Linked DNA regions of Homo sapiens: all the other regions are linked to region 5. Evidence: promoter capture Hi-C in human tissues and cell types (Jung and others, 2019). All regions are on one chromosome and are shown on one strand. Each heading gives the region's core, a stretch centred on a gene start or on the middle of the fragment in contact. The rest is flanking DNA. Distances are from core to core; before and after follow the strand shown. Region 1 overlaps MVP (major vault protein). Region 2 holds the start of C16orf54 (chromosome 16 open reading frame 54). Region 3 holds the start of KCTD13 (potassium channel tetramerization domain containing 13). Region 4 holds the start of SPN (sialophorin). Region 5 holds the start of SPNS1 (SPNS lysolipid transporter 1, lysophospholipid).

Region 1 (2,700 bases), core at 178-2,677, 860 kb after region 5:
TGCTGGCTCTCACCAAGGGTGGAATTGACTCACTGTACCTCCACTCACCTCCAGCCACCCCCATCCTCCACACATGCCCCAAACACACCTGCCTCTTTTCTGAGAACTGTTGGCCCATCTCACCTTCCCAGGCTCCAGAGCCTACCAGAAGTGCCCAGCCAGTCTGGCATTAAATGACATGTGCCAAGGTTAAGCAGTTCATTCACCCGGTGCCAGACACTGGTGGGCAGTGCCAAAGCAGCAGTGACAAGCCCAGGCCCCAGGCTGTGCCTGTTCTAGGAGAAGCCATCACAGGCCTGAACCTACAGCCAGGCTCTTGTCCCCGTTGGCCTCAGGCCTGGGCCTGAGCAGGTGGGTGTCCCACCTTCATTCCTTTACCTGTTCTTCCACCTTTACCTTCTGGCCATTTAATGGTTTTGGGTTTTTTGTTTGTTTGTTTGTTTGTTTTTAATAGAGACGGGGTTTCACCGTGTTAGCCAGGATGGTCTTGATCTCCTGACCTCATGATCCGCCCGCCTCGGCCTCCCAAAGTGCTGGGATTACAGGCATGAGCCACCGTGTCCAGCCCCATTTAATGGTTTTCTTACTGACTTTACTAACCAGTGCTGCTTGATCCTGAAAGCATAATAGCAGAACATGGGGAACTTTTAGAGACATTCATGTCCACTTAGGTGCAGACAGTTTGGGGGAAGAAGTGTGTGTGTAGAGAGAAAATGAAGAATGATTAAGACAATAACCCTTAAGGAATCCAAGTGAAAAGTATATAGGGATTCTTGTACCTTTTTTTTTTTTTTTTTTTTTTTGAGATGGAGTCTCACTCTGTTGCCCAGGCTGGAGTACAGTGGCATAATCTCGGCTAACTGGAAGCTCTGCCTCCCAGGTTCACGCAATTCTCCTGCCTCAGCCTCCCGAGTAGCTGGGACTACAGGCGCCCACCACCACACCCGGCTAACTTTTTGTGTTTTTAGTAGAGATGGGGTTTCACCGTGTTAGCCAGGGTGGTCTCGATCTCCTGACGTCATGATCCACCTGCCTTGGCCTCCCAAAGTGCTGGGATTACAGGCGTGAGCCACCGCGCCTGGCCTTTTTTTTTTTTTTTTTTTCTGGATCTCCCCCTGTTGCCTAGACGAGAGTGCAGTGGGGTGATCATAGCTCACTGCAGCCTCAACCTCCTGGGCTCAAACGATCCTTCCACCTCATTCTCCCAAAATGCTGGGATTGCAGGTGTGAGCCACCAAGCCCTGCCTAAGCTTTCATTTTAAATATGTTCAGCCGGGCACAGTGGCTCACGCCTGTAATCCCAGCACTTTGGGAGGCCAAGGTAGGCAGATCACTTGAGGTCAGGAGTTTGAGACCAGGCTGGCCAACATGGCGAAAACCCATCTCTACTAAACATACAACAATTAGCCAGGCGTGGTGGCATGCGCCTGTAATCCCAGCTACTTGGGAGGCTGAGGCATGAGAATTACTTGAACCTGGGAGGCGGAGATTGCAGTGAGCTGAGATTGCGCCACTGCGCTCCAGCCTGGGTGACAGAGCAAGACTCTGTCTCAAAAAAAAAAAAAAAAATTAGCTGGGGGTGGTGACACACCTGTAATCCCAGCCACTCAGGAGGCTGAGACAGAAGGATCACATGAGCCTGGGAGATTGAGACTGTTGTGAGCCATGGTTGTACCACTGCAGTCCAGCCTGGATGACATAGGAAGACCCCATCTCCAAAAATAAAAAAAAGCCAGCTCTTCCTTTGAGCCCCAGTTTCAGTTCAAAGGGCCTTCTCTAACTTCTCCTTCATCTGAACTCCTGAGACAGGGTCTTGCTCTGCTGCCCAGGCTGAAGTGCAGTGGTGCAGTCATAGCTCACTGAAGCCTTAACCTCCTGGGCTCAAGTGATCCTCCCACCTCAGCCTCCCGAGTAGCTGGGACTACAGGTGTGCGCCGCCACCATGCCTGGCTACACTTTTTTTTTTTTTTTTTTTTTTTAGAGATGGGATCTTGCTATGTTGCCCAGGCTGGTTCTTGAATGTCTGAGGTCAAGCAATCCTCCTACCTCAGTCTCCCAAAGTTCTGGGATGACAGGTGTGAGCCACTGTGCCCGGCCTCCACCCCAGTCTTATTTCAGGACATACAGAGATGGATGTTGTGGACCCGCCTCCAGAGCATCAGGCTTGGCCCTGGGGTCACAGCACTGATGGTTCTGTGTCTCCACCTTCTTCCCCACTAGGACATCACACCCCTGCAGGTGGTTCTGCCCAACACTGCCCTCCATCTAAAGGCGCTGCTTGATTTTGAGGATAAAGATGGAGACAAGGTGGTGGCAGGAGATGAGTGGCTTTTCGAGGGACCTGGTAAGTTCTGTCTCCATAGGGCTCCCTGCCTTCCTGTCATAGCCCTGATACCTTCTGACCATCACCTTCCCTCCCCAGGCACGTACATCCCCCGGAAGGAAGTGGAGGTCGTGGAGATCATTCAGGCCACCATCATCAGGCAGAACCAGGCTCTGCGGCTCAGGGCCCGCAAGGAGTGCTGGGACCGGGACGGCAAGGAGAGGGTGACAGGTGGGGTCACCAAGGGGCGATGATGGTGGGTGGGCAGGAGGGGTCCCCACTGCAGGGGAAGCAGGGGAAGGTTGAGGAAAGCCTCCTGTAGCCCCAGAGAGGCGCTTTCCTGGTATCTTTTGAAAGCTGTTGAGGGCCACCCACTG
Region 2 (2,700 bases), core at 126-2,625, 770 kb after region 5:
GGGTGGGAGGCTCAGGGGCCCGATCTGTCAGCAGGGGGACCGCAGAGCCATACCAGTCCTCAGAGCGCTCTCGGGCGGTGCCCATGGGCTCAATCCACAGCTCTCCTCCTGGGCGCCACACCAGGGTGGGTGCACGGTGGCTGGGGTCTGGGCGGAGAGCACGGCGGAACAGGCGTTCAGCCAACACAGCGGTGGTGAGGATGAAGAGCGCAGCCAGGGTGGCCAGGACCAGCATGATGGGGATGCAGGGCCCACAGGGCAGTGAGGGCCATGGGGCTGCTTCCCATGCGGGGGGCCCCTCCACGCGCCCAGAGGGCGGCTCTGGAGTCAACGGCATCTGAGAGACACAGGGGTGAGAAGAGGAAGTAAATGAGGCAGAGGGGGCACAACCAAGATGAGAGAGAGGCAGCAGGTGTCCAGGAAAGCCTGGGAGAAGGGCTGGGCATGGGGGCTCATGCCTGGAATCCCAGCACTTTGAGAGGTCGAGGCGGGAGGATCACTTGAGCCCAGGAGTTCAAGACCAGCCTGGACACACAGTGAAACCTCATCTCTAAAAATAATTTAAAAACTAGCTGGGTGTGGTGGCTCACACCTGTAGTCCCAGCTACACAGGAAGCTGAGGTGGGAGGATTACTTGAGCCCAGGAGTTTGAAGCTGCAGTGACCCCAGATTGCACCACTGTCCTCCAGCCTGGGCAATAGAGCAAGACCCTTTCTCAAAAATGAAAAAGAACATTCTGGAGAGACAGAGAAGCAAGAGGGACCAGAAAGGGTAAGCGTGAGCCAGGTGGGGTGGGAGGACAGGCAGCCTACCTCGGGGCACAGCCAGGCCCTCCTGCCTGGCTCTCCAGGCCTTTCCAGAATCCCCATTTCCCTCCCAGACCCCAGGGTGCCTCAGACAAGAAAGGTCTCAAGGGCTTCTTTCCTCCCCACTCGGCCCCCTCAAGTCTTGCTCAGACCTAGAGAGGAAGTGGTGGGTGAAGAAATGAGAACCTCCCCTCCCACTGGCTCCCCTGCGTGTGTCTCCCCCACCGCCTGCCGCCAGCACCTCCGCTGGCCCCTTGAGGCTCCTTCGCCCCTCACCATTCTCCTCGGACTTGATCTTGCTCTCATAGGCTCCACGGAATCTGCTGCCGGGCCGGGCCGGGCCAGGCCTCCGGAGGCGCCTCTGCACCCCTCCTGGGCTCCCCAGCTTTGCCCAGGCTCTGGCCTGTCTCTATCTCTCGTTTGTCTCTGCACACCTCTCTGTCCCCCACATCCTCCATCTGCAGGGGGCCTCCTGCACCCCTCAACTCACCTTGGGTCAGTCCCTGGGCTCCTCTCCCTCCTAGAGCCACTCTTCCTGGTGCTGGACTAAGAGGTGCAGGCTTGGAGGGTGCAGGGCGGTCCGCCTCTCAGACGTAGAGGCCCGGCCTCGGATGAAGGCGGAAGGGAGGGCACCGCCTGTTGCTGGGCAACTGTGCCCCAACTCGTCTGCCCCTGGGGAGTGTTTGTTTCCAAAGCAACCCAAGGGGATGTGGTCACTGCGGTGAGGAGGCTTTTCCTGGGGTAAGGTGGGGCTGGAATGGGCAATGGTTCTGTTGAACTTAGTGTCACCCCATAGCCAGGCCCTGAGCCCCAGAACATTCACCGAAAAGCTGAGAAAGAGGACGCCGGGGCCAGGCACAGTGGCTCACCCCTGTAATCCCAGCATTTTGGGAGGTCAAGGTGGGCAAGTCACCTGAGGTCAGGAGTTCGAGACCAGCCTGCCAACATGGCGAAACCCCATCTCTACTGAAAAATACAAAAATTAGCTGGGCATGGTGACGGGCACTTGTAATCTCAGCTGCTCAGGCGGCTGAGGCAGGGAGAATCGCTTGAACCCGGGACTCGGAGGTTGCAGTGAGCTGAGATCGTGCCACCACACTCCAGCCTGGGCAACAGAGTGAGACTCCGTCTTAAAAAAAAAGAAAAGAAAAGAAAAGAAAAAGAAATAGGACACTGGGACTTTAGCCCGTACATTCCCAGAGAACCATGGTGCCTCCCCCGTTCCTCCTGGGAGGATGCCCCACCCCATCCTGCCTTGTCTTATCCACGGTGCCTCCCCAGATCTGCTCCTGCCATGCAGCCCCCACAGGCACCCCCTGCTTGGCCAGCTTGCTTCACACCTTTTTTTTTTTTTTCTGGTAGAGATGGGCTCTTGCTATGTTGCCCAGGCTGGTCTCAAGCTCCTGGCCTCAAGAGATCCTCCTGCCTCAGCCTCCCAAAGTGCTGGGATTACAGGTGTGAGCTACCACACTGGCCCCTGCCTCATACTTTTAATTAACATAAGTCTCTCTCTCTTCAGACCATTTAGCCCCCATTTTGGTTGGAAAATATCAGTGAGGTGAGGCTTGGGTAACAAAAATGTCAAGCCTCTGAGAGGAGTCCAGGGTATAAAAACAGGCGTGGGCCTGTTTCCAAAACCCTGACCATCCTCATGTCTGTCCCTCTTTCCTGCTGCTGAGGGTGGGAGGAGCCTGGAGCAGAGTGTGACAAGATGTCATCAGGCTCTGGAGTCCAGGTGACTTTCTGAGATTCTCTAGTTTGACTCATCCACAGATGACAAAAGTAAGGCTTAAAGAAAAGAGATTTCATGACCAAAGTCGCATGACCAATGTATGTGTGGGTGAGCATGTAGTGGCCAGGGTGGTGGAAGAATAGATAGAAATCCCTGGGCTGG
Region 3 (2,700 bases), core at 7-2,506, 950 kb after region 5:
GCCTCCCAAAGTGCTGGGATTAAAGGCGTGAGCCACCGCACCTGGCCGAATTCTTCACCTTTGATACTTGAAGGCAGATCTCCGCCTCTCAAATTTTTATTCTCCTGCTCTCACAGTCCTCGTTAACCCCTCCCTTAAGACTCTCCCACTCCCAAACTCCAAAACTTCAAAGTCTCACTTGGGCACGAAGGGTCCATACTTGAATGCAACACTCCAAGAAGGTAAGGTTCACCTGCCAAGGAGACCTGTCCACCCTCCACTCTGGTGTCCCTGGCAAACCCAAAGCAGCCTCCTTCTGCAATGTGTGTATACAGGTGGATTCCTAGAGTGTACAGGGACCTGTGTCAGGGGAACACAGAGGCAAACAAGATCTCCCAGCTCTCCTGGCTGGCTGTGAGCAGTTCTGAAGCAGAGAGGGAAACAAAAGGCTGGGCAGTCGGAAGAAACTGAGGAAGGCTGCCAGGAGTAGTACTGCAGGCAGCAGGGCTAGTTCCCAAGTCTTGAGCTGAGGGGTGAAGGGTGGGAGAGGTGGTCATGAGGATTATGAACTGACACGTTCAATCACTTACCACAGCGCCTGGCAGTTAGGGGTTCCGTAAGTGTTGGTTATTGCTGGGGGTAAAGGATTGGGGGAGGAGAAGAGAAATTATGAATGAGAAAGGGGAGGAGATGGGATGTGGGGGCTGGAGGGAGCTGAGAATGAGTTGACTGGACAGTAGCGGGCAGAGAGAAGGGGCATGAGGAGCCCCGGTGGTGAGAGACTGCGGGGAACGGGAGTTGGGGGTCTGGGGTGGGGGCACGGTAGGGGCGCCGCTCGTACCTCCGGCATCGGTCAGCACCTCCACGCGGCCGCTGAACATGGCTTTGAGCATGGTGTCCTGTCCCGTGAGGGTGCGCAGCGTGGTGTAGTGCAACGAGCCGCCCACGTTCAGCTTCACGTATTTGCTGTTCGGGGTCAGCGGCTTGAGACCGTAGGCGGCGGGGCCAGGCTCGAGACCCGAGGGCTTGGGGGCTTCCAGGGACGGGGCCGCGGCGGCAGCCGGGCCCGAGGCCTCCGCCGACATGCCGGGTAGCAGCGGCGGACGGCGATCCCAGGATCTCTCCGCGCCCTGCGGCCTGCTCCCGAAGACCCTCGGCCGGCCCCCAGCCCTTGGGCCAGACCGCTCGGCGCACACGCCCACTCACCGCAGCTACTCTGCAAGACCGGCCCTCCGCCCCATCTCGCTCGCACCACCCGGAAGCCGGCGCCGGGCAGCTGCGCAGGCGCGGCCCCGCCCCTGAATGGGGGCGGGGCTGCGAGTATGGAGCATGCGCAGTGGCCTCGCTGGGGGATCCCGTAGAGGTTTGGCGTGTGGCCTGCGGGTTCCCCGGGCGGGTCGACGTGCGCTCCTCTCTGGTCTCGAGTCACCAGGACCAGATCGAGGATGCGGCCGACCCCCTGCCCGATGTGGAAAGCGAAGTCTCCACCTCGTGATTGGGTCTCTGCTGTCAGAGAGCTTCACGAGCTTGAGGGGAAACAGACAGAGAGGTCTGGGCATTGGGCAGTTTCCCGCCTCCCAGCCCCGCGCACTGAACAGACTGTGACCAGAACTGCGAACAAAGCGCGGAGGGAAGCTCTTAAAGGAGGCCAAAGCGGCCGGGCGCTGTGGCTCACACCTGTAACCCCAGCCTGTAAGCCTAGCTACTCGGGAGGCCGAGGCAGAAGGAGCGCTTGAAGCCAGGAGTTGGAAGCTGCAGTAATCCGTGATCGGACCGTTGCACTCTAGCCTGGGCAACATAACGTCCTTTGAAAAAAAAAAAAAAAACAGAGGCCAAAACGGGTAGCAGTGGTGCCCGGGCACCAAGGATGGAAGGCCTCTCTGAGGAGGTGATGCCGAGCTGAAGCTGGGAAGCGGATGTGAGGGAAGAGTTCCAGGCAGAGGGAAGGCAAATGCAGAGATCCTCAGGCAGGAACACTGAACTGTTCTCCGTATTTGAGGAGCAGAGGGCGTGTCAGTGGTGGCCGCAGCAGCTGAGCAAAGGTCTTAGAATCCCAGCTAATGTCGTGGGACCTAGCACCCAATCCCAAAAGAAAGAAGAATAGATAGGAACCCACTGTTGACAAGAAGGTGCACTGAGAAGTGTTTTTATCTGACCCGATCTGCATCCAGTTTAGAAGCCGATACATCAGGGATTTAACAATCTGTCTTAATGTCTAGCAAGGGGGGTTGCTGGAGGGAAAACACAGAGTCAGAGTTCTATCTTCAGCCCTGCCAGCAGGTCCCTGGGAGATGCTAGACGAGTGACTTTTCTCTGGGCGTGGTTGGTGTAAGGGATGCACACGCAGGAGGAAGGTCGGAGTGTAAATGTGTGACCTGGGCCTGTTACTGGGTATAAATGGGCCTGTAGTGACCGGGAGCTCATGTTCTACCAAAGGGGTTGCCAATTTTCTGATTTCGAGTGTGGCGGTGTAAAAGAGAAAAGCAACTGCTGCCAGCTGGGAGCTGGTTTGCACCCTCACTCCAGAAGCCTTGATGTTGCTAGGAGCTGACCTGGCACCAACAGCACGGCCATGGTGGTGTCCTGTTGAGCAAAATAATTTCACAAAAAACATCAGACAAGGTCACTCTCTGACTGATCTAGAAAAAGACCATTCCATAATAAAGCCTCAATACAGAAACAAGAACATTGTCCAAACCACAAAAATTACCAACACAATCC
Region 4 (2,700 bases), core at 40-2,539, 690 kb after region 5:
CCTGTTAGAATCTTCTATTGTGCACATGTTGCTCTTAAAATATACAAATCAGTTTTGATTTTAAAAAATTATTTATTTTTTTAGTGATAGGAGTTTTGCTACGTTGCCCAGGCTGGTTTCAAACTCTTGGGCTCAGGAGGTCCTCCCACTTTGGCCTGGACTGCCAGCATAATGTATCACCACACCCGGGACTGATTTTCGTTTTTCAAGAACAAAAACCAAAAACATACACAAACCGAGAGTCAAAGCTTGCTAATTAGAGGAAAGTCAGGAAATGGGAACCATTCAAAGAAGAAAATACCCCCACCTCCTACTCTCACCTATCCAAAGACAATTAGGTGAATCCCTTAGTAGATATCTTTCCAGACGGTTTTCCATATAGATTCCCATATCTGGCCAGGCGCGGTGGCTCACACCTGTAATCCTAGCGCTTGGGGAGGCTGAGGCGGATGGACCACCTGAGGTCAGGAGTTCGAGACCAGCCTGACCAACATGGAGAAACCTCGTCTCTACGAAAAATACAAAATTAGCCGGGCACAGTGGTGCAAGCCTGTAATCCCAGCTACTCAGGAGGCCGAGGCAGGAGAATTGCTTGAACCTAGGAGGCAGACATTGTGCTGAGCCGAGCCAAGATCATGCCATTGCACTAAACTCCGCCTTAAAAAAAAAAAAAAAGATTCCCACATCTTTACTAGTTTGCAGAAATAAGATCCTAGCATATGCAGTGTGTAGGAACCACCTTGGTTTAGCCACGTCTCTGTGACTGGGGGCCACTGTGGTGACCCCCAGCTCCCCGGACAGAGTCAAGAGCTCACCAGCCTGCAAAGGTTTTCACGGCCCCCAGCCAGACTCGGGGGCTTCCTCTTGCCCTGCTACTTCCTGGGAGCTCTGAGGGCAGGAAATGGCGCCACTCAGCTCCTGGCCTAACAGCTTGGGGACCACAAATGCAAAGGAAACCACCCTCCCCTCCCACCTCCTCCTCTGCACCCTTGAGTTCTCAGGCTCACATTCCCACCACCCACCTCTGAGCCCAGCCCTCCCTAGCATCACCACTTCCATCCCATTCCTCAGCCAAGAGCCAGGAATCCTGATTCCAGATCCCACGCTTCCCTGCCTCCCTCAGGTGAGCCCCAGACCCCCAGGCACCCCGCTGGCCCCTGAAGGAGCAGGTGATGGTGCTGTCTTCGCCCAGCAGCTGTGGGAGCAGGCGGGTGGGGCAGGATGGAGGGGTGGGTGGGGTGGGTGGAGCCAGGGCCCACTTCCTTTCCCCTTGGGGCCCTGTCCTTCCCAGTCTTGCCCCAGCCTCGGGAGGTGGTGGAGTGACCTGGCCCCAGTGCTGCGTCCTTATCAGCCGAGCCGGTAAGAGGGTGAGACTTGGTGGGGTAGGGGCCTCAGTGGGCCTGGGAATGTGCCTGTGGCTTGAAAAGACTCTGACAGGTTATGATGGGAAGAGATTGGGAGCCATTGGGCTGCACAGGGTCAGGGAAGGCCAGGAGGGGCTGGTCACTGCTGGAATCTAAGCTGCTGAGGCTGGAGGGAGCCTCAGGATGGGGCTGATGGGGGAGCTGCCAGCATCTGTTCCTCTGTCATTTCTGATAACAGTAAAAGCCAGCATGGAAAAAACCGTTAAACCGCAGGTTGGGCCTGGCCGTTGGCAGGGAAGTGGGCAGAGGGGAGGCCCGGCCAGGTCCTCCGGCAACTCCCGCGTGTTCTGCTTCTCCGGCTGCCCACCTGCAGGTCCCAGCTCTTGCTCCTGCCTGTTTGCCTGGAAATGGCCACGCTTCTCCTTCTCCTTGGGGTGCTGGTGGTAAGCCCAGACGCTCTGGGGAGCACAACAGCAGTGCAGACACCCACCTCCGGAGAGCCTTTGGTCTCTACTAGCGAGCCCCTGAGCTCAAAGATGTACACCACTTCAATAACAAGTGACCCTAAGGCCGACAGCACTGGGGACCAGACCTCAGCCCTACCTCCCTCAACTTCCATCAATGAGGGATCCCCTCTTTGGACTTCCATTGGTGCCAGCACTGGTTCCCCTTTACCTGAGCCAACAACCTACCAGGAAGTTTCCATCAAGATGTCATCAGTGCCCCAGGAAACCCCTCATGCAACCAGTCATCCTGCTGTTCCCATAACAGCAAACTCTCTAGGATCCCACACCGTGACAGGTGGAACCATAACAACGAACTCTCCAGAAACCTCCAGTAGGACCAGTGGAGCCCCTGTTACCACGGCAGCTAGCTCTCTGGAGACCTCCAGAGGCACCTCTGGACCCCCTCTTACCATGGCAACTGTCTCTCTGGAGACTTCCAAAGGCACCTCTGGACCCCCTGTTACCATGGCAACTGACTCTCTGGAGACCTCCACTGGGACCACTGGACCCCCTGTTACCATGACAACTGGCTCTCTGGAGCCCTCCAGCGGGGCCAGTGGACCCCAGGTCTCTAGCGTAAAACTATCTACAATGATGTCTCCAACGACCTCCACCAACGCAAGCACTGTGCCCTTCCGGAACCCAGATGAGAACTCACGAGGCATGCTGCCAGTGGCTGTGCTTGTGGCCCTGCTGGCGGTCATAGTCCTCGTGGCTCTGCTCCTGCTGTGGCGCCGGCGGCAGAAGCGGCGGACTGGGGCCCTCGTGCTGAGCAGAGGCGGCAAGCGTAACGGGGTGGTGGACGCCTGGGCTGGGCCAGCCCAGGTCCC
Region 5 (2,700 bases), core at 178-2,677:
TGGGAGGCTGAGGCACAAGAATCGCTTGGACCCCGGAAGTGGAGGTTGCAGTGAGCCGAGATCCCGCCACTACACTCCAGCTCCAGCCTGGGTGACAGAGCAAGCGTCTGTCTCCAAAAAAAGAAAGAAAGAAAAAAAAAAAGAGTTCTTTACATGGATACAAGTCCTTTGGCAGATAGATGCTTTGTAAATATTTTCATTCAACCTGTGGCTTGCCTTTTCACTTCAGAGGTGCAATTTACAATGCGTATCACTCTCTAGATAAGCTCCACGAGGGAAGGGAGTAAGTCTGCCTTTCCCTGAAACCTGGTAAAATGCCAGGCACATACATGTTCAATAATATCTTGTTGAGGGAATTAAATGCCTGCAACCTGAAGTTCCTGTCCGCCAGGGGAAACCAAGCTTAAGGTTCTGAAACACGAGGCACCTAATATGGGGGGGGGGGGGGGGTTAAAGCCAATTATGGGTATTCGGACTCGAAATAGTTTCTAACAAGGCGTTTTGGGGTTGGGGGATGCTCTCCCCACGAGATTCCAGGATTTCAGTAGAGGGCCTTTAAGGGCTGGTTGAAAGATGGGTCTTGAAGCTGTATTTGCACAGAACTATACTAATTTTACTTAGAGTGCTTTATTAGATGTAGCTTGGAGATTATAGGGTGCCACTAAAGAACCACTCCCAAGTTATCCCTTTGACCCTAGTCCTGCAGCTGGGAGTCTCCTTAGGCTAGGAGCTCCTGCCTGCCCTACAAAAGCCCACCGGAGGGCGCAAGGGCTCCAATCCCGATTGGAGTGAGGAAAAATATGCTCCAGGAGCGGCGGGTGGAGACGCTTCCTTTAATAGGTATTTAAGTGTCCACGGTGAAGGCTCAGGAGTTTACAAGGCTAGCAGGGTTGGGGAATCTCAACAAAGGGCGGGGCGTTGCTCAAGCTCCATCCGTCCGTCCGTCCATCCCTCCGTCCCTCCAATCCTCCATCCATCGCGCTGCTCAAGCTCCATCCATCCATTTATCCATCCATCCATCCATCCTTTATTGAGAGTAAAAAGCCGCCAACCAGACCCTGGGAGGAAGACAGGATGGTTCCCGAGAACTAGGGCTGCTCCTTGGCTTTTAGAGGTATCTACTACTTCCAAAACCTTTTGAGACCCCATTATCCCGTTTGATGAAGATGGAGTCTGCCACGTGGGGGTTCCAGATAAGACAGCTGAGATTCGGAAGGGCAGGCGACTCCACCTAGTCACGGGGACGCTCTTTTTGACGCTCCAGGGACCGCAGGGTCTGGGAAAGTTCCTGGTTACTCCGGCGACCGGCCGGCCGTCACATGACATGTGAGCCCGGGCGGAACGCCCAAGAGGCTTCCGTAGTCGGGTGGCAGGTCACGTGTCGAAGGCTTGCCCGCGGGGACCCCTTCCACCCTGGCTCCCGCGTCACATGACCGGCTTTAAGCAACATGGCGGCTGCCGTGGTGCAGCGCCCGGGCTGAGCGACAGCAAGTGCAGCGGGCTCCTACCCCGGGTGAGGGGTGGCCTCCGCGTGGGATCGTGCCCTCTTCAGCCCGCTCCTGTCCCCGACATCACGTGTATTCCGCACGTCCCCTCCGCGCTGTGTGTCTACTGAGACGGGGAGGCGTGACAGGGCCCGGGTCCCTTCTCAGTGGTGCTCTGTGCTTCAGGGCAAGCTCCCCGTCTCCGGGCGCACTTCCCTCGCCTGTGTTCGGTCCATCCTCCTTTCTCCAGCCTCCTCCCCTCGCAGGTGGGATCGTCGGTGGGACCGGAGCGCGGGCGGGCGCGGCCCCCCGGGACCATGGCCGGGTCCGACACCGCGCCCTTCCTCAGCCAGGCGGATGACCCGGACGACGGGCCAGTGCCTGGCACCCCGGGGTTGCCAGGGTCCACGGGGAACCCGAAGTCCGAGGAGCCCGAGGTCCCGGACCAGGAGGGGCTGCAGCGCATCACCGGCCTGTCTCCCGGCCGTTCGGCTCTCATAGTGGCGGTGCTGTGCTACATCAATCTCCTGAACTACATGGACCGCTTCACCGTGGCTGGTAGGGACTCACTTCTGGGAGGAAGATAGTCTAGGAGAGGGGAGCCAGGGTCCCGAGGGTGGCGCTGCTTTGCCGGACCATCCTGAATTTTCTCCTCAGGCGTCCTTCCCGACATCGAGCAGTTCTTCAACATCGGGGACAGTAGCTCTGGGCTCATCCAGACCGGTGAGTGGGGACCACTCCTGGTCACACAGCCGCTCCTCCTTCTGTTCTGTCTCAAGTGGGGCCACGCGCTGGCCTGTCTAGGGGCTCATTAATGGAGGTTTTGTGGCCAGTTAGGGGAGGTGATGGCCCTGATGTTGCTCGGGGGTCAGCGGGACACCACATTTAAAGAGGGAGTCAGTTTAGTATAACTAAGTATAACTTCACCCAGGTGAAGACAGACCTGGGTTTAAATCTCAGCTCTTCCACTTATTGTGTGATGGTAGGCAAGGCACTCAACCTCTCTAAGCCTCATTTTCCTTGTCTATAAGATGGAACAAGTAATAACACGAATCATCTCTTAGGACTGATGTGAAGATTAACTAAAAGATTGTCTGTGAAGGGCCTAGTGCAGTGTTTGGCACATGGTAGACACCCAGTAAATAATGGCAGGAGGGTTGGGTGTGGTGACTCACGCCTGTAGTCCCAGCACTTTGGGAGGCCAAGATGAGTGGAT

What was found. Contacts are between HindIII fragments. The study calls those that stand out against the background at their distance.
Region 1: a contact is called between a fragment that was not itself captured here and the fragment with the promoter of SPNS1 in region 5, in 1 of the 25 tissues and cell types used here (dorsolateral prefrontal cortex).
Region 2: the fragment with the promoter of C16orf54 here is called in contact with the fragment with the promoter of SPNS1 in region 5 in 4 of the 25 tissues and cell types used here (dorsolateral prefrontal cortex, mesenchymal stem cells, pancreas and 1 more).
Region 3: the fragment with the promoter of KCTD13 here is called in contact with the fragment with the promoter of SPNS1 in region 5 in 2 of the 25 tissues and cell types used here (hippocampus and lymphoblastoid cells).
Region 4: a contact is called between the fragment with the promoter of SPN here and the fragment with the promoter of SPNS1 in region 5, in 4 of the 25 tissues and cell types used here (H1 embryonic stem cells, IMR-90 fibroblasts, aorta and 1 more).

Annotation. Positions count from the first base shown.
Region 1 is chr16:29,831,513-29,834,212 of GRCh38, forward strand. It overlaps MVP (major vault protein), which reads left to right. Exons shown (of 15, transcript NM_005115.5): 4 at 2,221-2,344; 5 at 2,423-2,554. Among named protein-coding and RNA genes, the nearest start is that of MVP, 12 kb to the left of the region's middle. The HindIII fragment of the contact is 4,346 bases long and covers 1-2,700 here.
Region 2 is chr16:29,744,615-29,747,314 of GRCh38, forward strand. C16orf54 (chromosome 16 open reading frame 54) reads right to left here and starts at 1,376. Exons shown (of 2, transcript NM_175900.4): 1 at 1,297-1,376; 2 at 1-337. The coding sequence starts at 337. LOC124903673 (a long non-coding RNA gene) reads left to right here and starts at 633. Exons shown (of 2, transcript XR_007065046.1): 1 at 633-771. RefSeq lists enhancers at 1,666-1,715, 2,243-2,312. The HindIII fragment of the contact is 21,250 bases long and covers 1-2,700 here.
Region 3 is chr16:29,924,970-29,927,669 of GRCh38, forward strand. KCTD13 (potassium channel tetramerization domain containing 13) reads right to left here and starts at 1,257. Exons shown (of 6, transcript NM_178863.5): 1 at 821-1,257. The coding sequence starts at 1,064. KCTD13-DT (KCTD13 divergent transcript) reads left to right here and starts at 1,254. Exons shown (of 3, transcript XR_001752362.2): 1 at 1,254-2,700. RefSeq lists a silencer at 923-1,162. The HindIII fragment of the contact is 18,228 bases long and covers 1-2,700 here.
Region 4 is chr16:29,661,958-29,664,657 of GRCh38, forward strand. It overlaps SPN (sialophorin), which reads left to right and starts at 1,290. Exons shown (of 2, transcript NM_003123.6): 1 at 1,290-1,359; 2 at 1,738-2,700. The coding sequence starts at 1,772. RefSeq lists enhancers at 5-54, 695-774 and silencers at 955-1,014, 2,275-2,394. The HindIII fragment of the contact is 34,536 bases long and covers 1-2,700 here.
Region 5 is chr16:28,973,351-28,976,050 of GRCh38, forward strand. SPNS1 (SPNS lysolipid transporter 1, lysophospholipid) reads left to right here and starts at 1,428. Exons shown (of 12, transcript NM_032038.3): 1 at 1,428-2,042; 2 at 2,142-2,207. The coding sequence starts at 1,802. RefSeq lists enhancers at 1,165-1,284, 1,365-1,474, 1,573-1,742, a cis regulatory region at 1,658 and a silencer at 1,695-1,784. The HindIII fragment of the contact is 29,978 bases long and covers 1-2,700 here.